Linked DNA regions of Homo sapiens: region 1 is linked to region 2. The links are contacts of gene promoters, found by promoter capture Hi-C in blood cells and fetal thymus (Javierre and others, 2016). All regions are on one chromosome and are shown on one strand. Each heading gives the region's core, a stretch centred on a gene start or on the middle of the fragment in contact. The rest is flanking DNA. Distances are from core to core; before and after follow the strand shown. Region 1 overlaps ITGAM (integrin subunit alpha M). Region 2 holds the start of FUS (FUS RNA binding protein).

Region 1 (3,727 bases), core at 182-2,681, 130 kb before region 2:
CATTTATGTGGCCAACAAACATATGAAAAAAAAAAGCTCATCACTGGTCATTAGAGAAATGCAAATCAAAACCACAATGAGATACCATCTCATGCCAGTTAAAATGATGATCATTAAAAAGTCAGGAAACAACAGATGCTGGAGAGGATGTGGAGAAATAAGAATGCTTTTACACTGTTAGTGGGAGTGTAAATCAGTTCAACCATTGTAGAAGACAGTGTGGCGATTCCTCAAGGATCTAAAACCAGAAATACCATTTGACCCAGCAATCCCATTACTGGGTATATACCCAAAGGATTATAAATCATTCTACTATAAAGACACATGCACATGTATTTTTACTGAAGCACTATTTACAATAGCAAAGACTTGGAACCAACCTAAATGCCCATCAATGATAAACTGTATAAAGAAAATGTGGTACATATACACCATGGAATACTATGCAGCCATAAAAGAGAATGAGTTCATGTCCTTTGCAGGGACATAGATGAAACTGGAAACCATCATTCTCAGCAAACTAACACAGGAACAGGAAAGCAAACACCACATACTCTCACTCATAAGTGGGAGTTGAACAATGAGAATACATGGACACAGGGAGGGGAACATCACTGGAGCCTGTTGAGGGGTGGGGATCAAGGGGGAGGGAGAGCATTAGGACAAATACCTAATGCATGTGAGGCTTAAAACCTAGACAACGGGTTGATGGGTGCAGCAAACCACCATGGCACTTGTATACCTAGGTAACAAACCTACATGTTCTGCACATGTATCACAGAACTTAACGTATAATTTTTTTTTTTGAGACGGAGTCTCGCTCTGTTGCCAGGCTGGCGTGCAGTGGTGCAGTCTTGGCTCACTGCAACCTCCGCCTCCTGGGTTCAAGCAATTCTCCTGCCTCAGCCTCCCAAGTAGCTGGGATTACAGGCACACGCCACCAAGCCCAGCTAATTTTTGTATTTTTAGTAGAGATGGGGTTTCACCATGTTGGCAAGGCTGGTCTTGAACTCCTGACCTCGTGATCCGCCCGCCTCGGCCTCCCAAAGTGCTGGGATTACAGGCATGAGCCACTGTGCCTGGCCCAATGTGTAATTTAAAAAAGAAAAAATAAATAAAAACATGAAGATTTAAAAAAAAAAAAAAAAAGACTGCTCCCTACTACCACAGGAGGACGGACCAGCCTAAGCATTCACTGCAAAAGATGGCTATAATCGATCTTGTGAAAGCATTACTGAGCAGATCAAGATCTCTGGGAATGAACACTAAAGATGTTCTGAATAAATTATAGTCCGGCTGAGTGCAGTGGCTCACACCAGTAGTCCCAGCACTTTGGGAGGCCAAGGTGGGAAGATCACTTGAGCCCAGGAGTTGGAGACCAGCCTGGGAAACATAGACAGACCCTGTCACTGCAAAAGAAATTTAAATATTAGCCAGGTATGGTGGCATACACCTGCAGTCAAAGACACTTAGGAGGCTGAGGCAGGCGGATCACATGAGCCTGGGAGGTCAAGGCTGCAGTGAGCCATGATTGCACCACTTCACTCCAGCCTGCATGACAGACCAAGACCCTGTCTCAAAAATAATAATAATAAATAATAAATACATTTTAATGCAGTGGCATTTTAGTGTCTTTTTTGAAAACAAAAATTACATGTAATGTTACATTCTTGCATGTTCTTTGTTGATAGCATTAATTGATTCATTGGATTTCTTTTCTTTTTCTTTTTTATTATTATAATACTTTAAGTTTTAGGGTACACATGCACAACGTGCAGGTTTGTTACATATGTATACATGTGCCATGTTGGTGTGCTGCACCCATTAACTCGTCATTTAGCATTAGGTATATCTCCTAATGCTATCCCTCCCCCCTCCCCCCACCCCACAACAGTCCCTGGTGTGTGATGTTCCCCTTCCTGTGTCCATGTGTTCTCATTGTTCAATTCCCACCTATGAGTGAGAACATGCAGTGTTTGGTTTTTTGTCCTTGCGATAGTTTGCTGAGAATGATGGTTTCCAGCTTCATCCATGTCCCTACAAAGGACATGAACTCATCCTTTTTTATGGCTGCGTAGTGTTCCATGGTGTATATGTGCCACACTTTCTTAATCCAGTCTATCATTGTTGAACATTTGGGTTGGTTCCAAGTCTTTGCTATTGTGAATAGTGCCGCAATAAACACTTGTATGCATGTGCCTTTATAGCAGCATGATGTATAATCCTTTGGGTATATACCCAGTAATGGGATGGCTGGGTCAGATGGTATTTCCAGTTCTAGATCCCTGAGGAATCACCACACTGACTTCCACAATGGTTGAACTAGTTTACAGTCCCACCAACAGTGTAAAAGTGTTCCTATTTCTCCACATCCTCTCCAACACCTGCTGTTTCCTGACTTTTTAATGATTGCCATTCTAACTGGTGTGAGATGGTATCTCATTGTGGTTTTGATTTGCATTTCTCTGATGGCCAGTAATGATGAGCATTTTTTCATGTGTCTTTTGGCTGCATAAATGTCTTCTTTTGAGAAGTGTCTGTTCATATCCTTCACCCACTTTTTGATGGGGTTGTTTGTTTTTTTCTTGTAAATTTGTTTGAGTTCATTGTAGATTCTGGATATTACCCCTTTGTCAGATGAGTAGGTTGCAAAAATTTTCTCCCATTCAGTAGGTTGCCTGTTCACTCTGATGGTAGTTTCTTTTGCTGTGCAGCAGCTCTTTAGTTTAATTAGATCCCATTTGTCAATTTTGGCTTTTGTTGCCATTGCTTTCGATGTTTTAGACATGAAGTCCTTGCCCATGCCTATGTCCTCAATGGTATTGCCTAGGTTTTCTTCTAGGGTTTTTATGGTTTTAGGACTAACATGTAAGTCTTTAATCCATCTTGAATTAATTTTTGTATACGGTGTAAGGAAGGGATCCAGTTTCAGCTTTCTACATATGGCCAGCCAGTTTTCCCAGCACCATTTATTAAATAGGGAATCCTTTCCCCATTTCTTCTTTTTGTCAGGTTTGTCAAAGATCAGATAGTTGTAGATATGCGGCACTATTTCTGAGTGCTCAGTTCTGTTCCATTGGTCTATATCTCCAGCAGCTGAAGGTCCTGACTGTTAGAAGGAAAACTAACAACAGAAAGGACATCCACACCAAAAACCCATCTGTACGTCACCATCATCAAAGACCAAAGGTAGATAAAACCACAAAGATGGGGAAAAAACAGAGCAGAAAAACCGGAAACTCTAAAAATCAGAGCGCCTCTCCTCCTACAAAGGAACGCAGCTCCTCACCAGCAACGGAACAAAGCTGGACGGAGAATCACTTTGACGAGTTGAGAGAGGAAGGCTTCAGAAGATCAAACTACTCTGAGCTAAAGGAGGAAGTTCAAACCAATGGCAAAGAAGTTAAAAACTTTGAAAAAAAATTAGACGAATGGATAACTAGAATAATCAATGCGGAGAAGTCCTTAAAGGACCTGATGGAGCTGAAAACCACGGCACGAGAACTACGTGACGAATGCACAAGCCTCAGTAACTGACGCGATCAACTGGAAGAAAGGGTATCAGCGATGGAAGACGAAATGAATGAAATGAAGCGTGAAGAGAAGTTTAGAGAAAAAAGAATAAAAAGAAATGAACAAAGCCTCCAAGAAATATGGGACTATGTGAAAAGACCAAATCTACATCTCATTGGTGTACCTGAAAGTGACGGGGAGAATGGAATCAAGT
Region 2 (3,369 bases), core at 118-2,617:
ATCATGCAACTGCTCGCCTTAGGAGGCGAAAGTCAACAGGTACTCGAGTCCCCAGCCCTGGGACTCCAGATGGTTCCGTTTTCTCACCTACCCTGCCTTCCCCCAGCGAACAAAAAGCAACAAAAGCGCTTTTGAAAAGCCCCACTTAAGATACACGAACAAGATCAACTCATCCTCCCAGCACAGGAAACGCGGCGCTTCCCCCGCAGGAAAAGGGAAAGAGGACCAGGAGAGGGTGTGGCCTCGGGCGGCCGTTCTTCTCCGTCCCTATCTCAGAAAAAAGAAATTTAGACCAGGCGTGGTTGGCTTACGTCTGTAATCCCGACACTTCGGGAGGCCCAGGCGGGCGGATCACCTGAGGTCAGCAGTTCGAGACCAGCCTGACCAACATGGTGAAACCCCGCCCCTACTAAGAAACACAAAAATTAGCCGGGCTGTGGTGGCGGGCGCCTATAATCCCAACTACTCAGGAGGCTGAGGCAGAAGAATCACTTGAACCCAGGAGGTGGACGTTGCAGTGATCTGAGATCGCACCACTGCACTCCAGCCTGGGCGACAGAGGAAGACCGTGTCTCCAAAAAAAAAAAGAAAGAAATTTAGGCGGGAAAAACTCTCGGGCCGTCCCCAAGTCCGTTGGTCGAACCCTGACCACCGCCGCCAAACCGTTAAGCTAGAGGGCGGCCCCGATCCCGAGCCTCCGCCCCCAGCCGCGTGGCAACCCAGGCGGGAACGGAGCGATCCCGCCCATTCGCGAAGGACCACTGAGGGACAAGGCTCACACCGGACGCGCGCCGCCGAGTCTTCCGCGAAGGGTCTCGCGACAGAAAGCTGAACCAACACGAGGCGGGGAAGGGGTACCCGCGCCGCGAAGGGGGAGGGGCCCGCAGAGCGCGTGCGCGCCGCGAGTGCCCGGATGCAGCACTGCGACAAAGCGGGCTCGAGCGCGGGGCCGGGAGTTGGGGGAGGCGAGGCCACGGAGAATGGGCGTTTTCCACCCTCACCTGACGCTTCAAACCCCTAAGAAGCGTCCCTCCCAACGCCCACCCCAAGCAAACGGACTGCAAAGAAAAGACTTCCCGCCCCGCGCGCGAGGGCCAGAGGAGCGAAACAAAATGGCGACACCAGCCTCCTCCAGTTACTCTTCTCCGCGGCTTCCCGCCACAGGGGCGCCAAAAAATCCCACACGGGATCGCCGCCCCGGTCCCACTGAAAACGAAAAGCCCAGCTGGGAGGCCTCGGCCGGGTGCGCCGCCGCCGTCGCCTCGCGCCCTTACCTACCGTTTGAGGCCATGTCCGCGCACGCGCGCACAGGCAAGCAAGCAACGAAGTTCCAACACCGCTGAGTACCGACGCCTGGAGGACTGAGCAGCCCCGCCTCCTGCGTCGAAGCTTAAGTACGCTCCGCCGCCTACGCACCGCGCAGGCGCGCACCAAACGCGGAAGAGCAGGGGGAGGCAGGAACGCACTCCGCCCCCTTCGTAGGGCAGGTAGAGGGTCCGAGCAGGCAGAAGGGAAACAAGTTAACTAGAATCATGCGAATACTATACATAATCATATTTTTTGAGGAAGAACCCCTCTCTCCTCGGCAGGACTAGCCCACGATCTATCTCCACCCCCATGAAGGCACAGTGGTACGGCCTGAGTGCCCGCTGGGGGCGGGGCGAGGGGGCGGTCCCGGCGGCTGGGGACGAAACTGGAGTCACAGCCGGGAGTAGCGGGGTGGAACCGAGATTCCTGTGGCCGGGCCCCTTCGCTGGGCCCCGCTTTCACCCAGGATGGCGAGCTCCTGCCCTCCACCCTCTTGCCGCTGTATGGGGCGCCTCGTCCCCGCGGCTCCAGCCTCCCTCGTCGGCAGCACACTGGCCCTCCCTCTCCTGCGCCCTGAGGTTGACTTCGTCGTCTTTCAGGGTTGCCTTGCCTTTCGGCCTTTCTGGGGTTCGGGGATTATGACGTTTGACCTGAAAGACAGCAGGGATTTCGGCCGGGACCCCTGGGCCCCGGGCTCGTCCAGCACTGGGCTCTCACCCGGATCCTCATGGCTTTGCCCCTGGGGAGCCACGGGGCGGAACAGCCCAGGCCATCCTTGGGACCAGAGAGGGTTGACCTCAGATGTACGGTACCCAGCCTTTTCTCAGGGACCTCCTTTTTATTTTTCTGAAGCCCTACCAGGGCGATCCCAGAAATAAAACGTGTACAAGGCTTAAGTGGTTTCAAAATGCACAGATAATTTCCTTGTCATCAGTCTTACGAAGGAAGTAAAGATACCTCCGTTTTCTAGATAAGGAAAGTGAGACTCAGAGACCCAAGTAATTGTGCCTGATTACAGGGCAGCTAAGAGGAGTCGTGATTCGAATCCAGGTCTTGTAACTGCAAAACACTCCTCTTTTTGGTGGCATGAATGCTAGAGTGTTTGGTCGCCTTTTCACTTCCTGTGAGAGCAAAAGCAAAAAGAAACATTCAAATTAACTTGCAACTTGCACTTTCATCAGCCTTGCCTGGAGAAGGCAATTTGAAACTACTGAATAAAACAAGACAAAAGACGTTAATTCCTGATACATAGGCATGCAGGTTTTCCTTCCCAACTTAACCTTTCAGCGGGATTTCAGAAGGTCCTTTGAGGGTTGGACACGTCTTTCTAGAGAAACAATGAGGGCCATGCCCTGGGCCCGCCCACAAATTAAGCCCCACTAAGCCCTTGACTTCAGCCCTAAAGGCCCTGAATATGCCAATATCCACCCCACCGCCTTTGGAAGGAGAGTTCAACTCTCCAGTGAGAGCAAAAGAAAGGAAGTCCACCCTTATTCATGCATTAAGTCACAAATATTTATTTAGCACCTAGTATGTTCCAGGCACTGTTCTGGGCACTGGGTATGCATTCGTGTACAAAGCAGATGAAGTTAACATTTAATAATAAAGCTGACCGGGTGCGGTGGCTCACGCCTGTAATACCAGCACTTTGGGAGGCCGAGGCGTGTGGATCACGAGGTCAGGAGTTCGAGACCAGCCTGGCCAACATGGTGAAACCCCGTCTCTACTAAAAATACAAAAATTAGCCAGGCGTCGTCCGCGCATCTGTAATCCCAGCTACTCAGGAAGCTGAGATGGGAGAATCGCTTGAACCCAGGAGGCGGAAGTTGCAGTGAGCCAAGACGTGCCACTGCACTCCAGCCTGGGCAACAGAGCAAGACTGTCTCAAAACAAATAATAATAATAAAGCTGACATTTAATAATGATATACATTGTGCTCATCTATAATATGTAATAGCTAACACTTTAACAAGACTTACTGTCAGGCCCTGTTCTGACTGAGTAAACTCTTGATTTTATTTTTCACAACAAAAGGCTGATGTGAGGATGACATTTTATCTT

Evidence for each region. Contacts are between HindIII fragments. The CHiCAGO score rates a contact against its expected background, and 5 or more counts as called.
Region 1: a fragment that was not itself captured here is called in contact with the fragment with the promoter of FUS in region 2 in 4 of 17 cell types (M2 macrophages, M1 macrophages, M0 macrophages and 1 more); the score reaches 10.5 in M2 macrophages.

The regions. Positions count from the first base shown.
Region 1 is chr16:31,310,296-31,314,022 of GRCh38, reverse strand. All of the region lies in intron 14 of ITGAM (integrin subunit alpha M), which reads right to left. Among named protein-coding and RNA genes, the nearest start is that of ITGAX, 43 kb to the left of the region's middle. The HindIII fragment of the contact is 5,360 bases long and covers 1-3,727 here.
Region 2 is chr16:31,178,137-31,181,505 of GRCh38, reverse strand. It overlaps FUS (FUS RNA binding protein), which reads right to left and starts at 1,367. Exons shown (of 15, transcript NM_004960.4): 1 at 1,279-1,367. The coding sequence starts at 1,291. RefSeq lists enhancers at 92-141, 242-301, 332-421, 1-607, 608-1,369 and 4 more and silencers at 652-701, 822-971, 1,612-1,681. The HindIII fragment of the contact is 6,651 bases long and covers 1-1,391 here.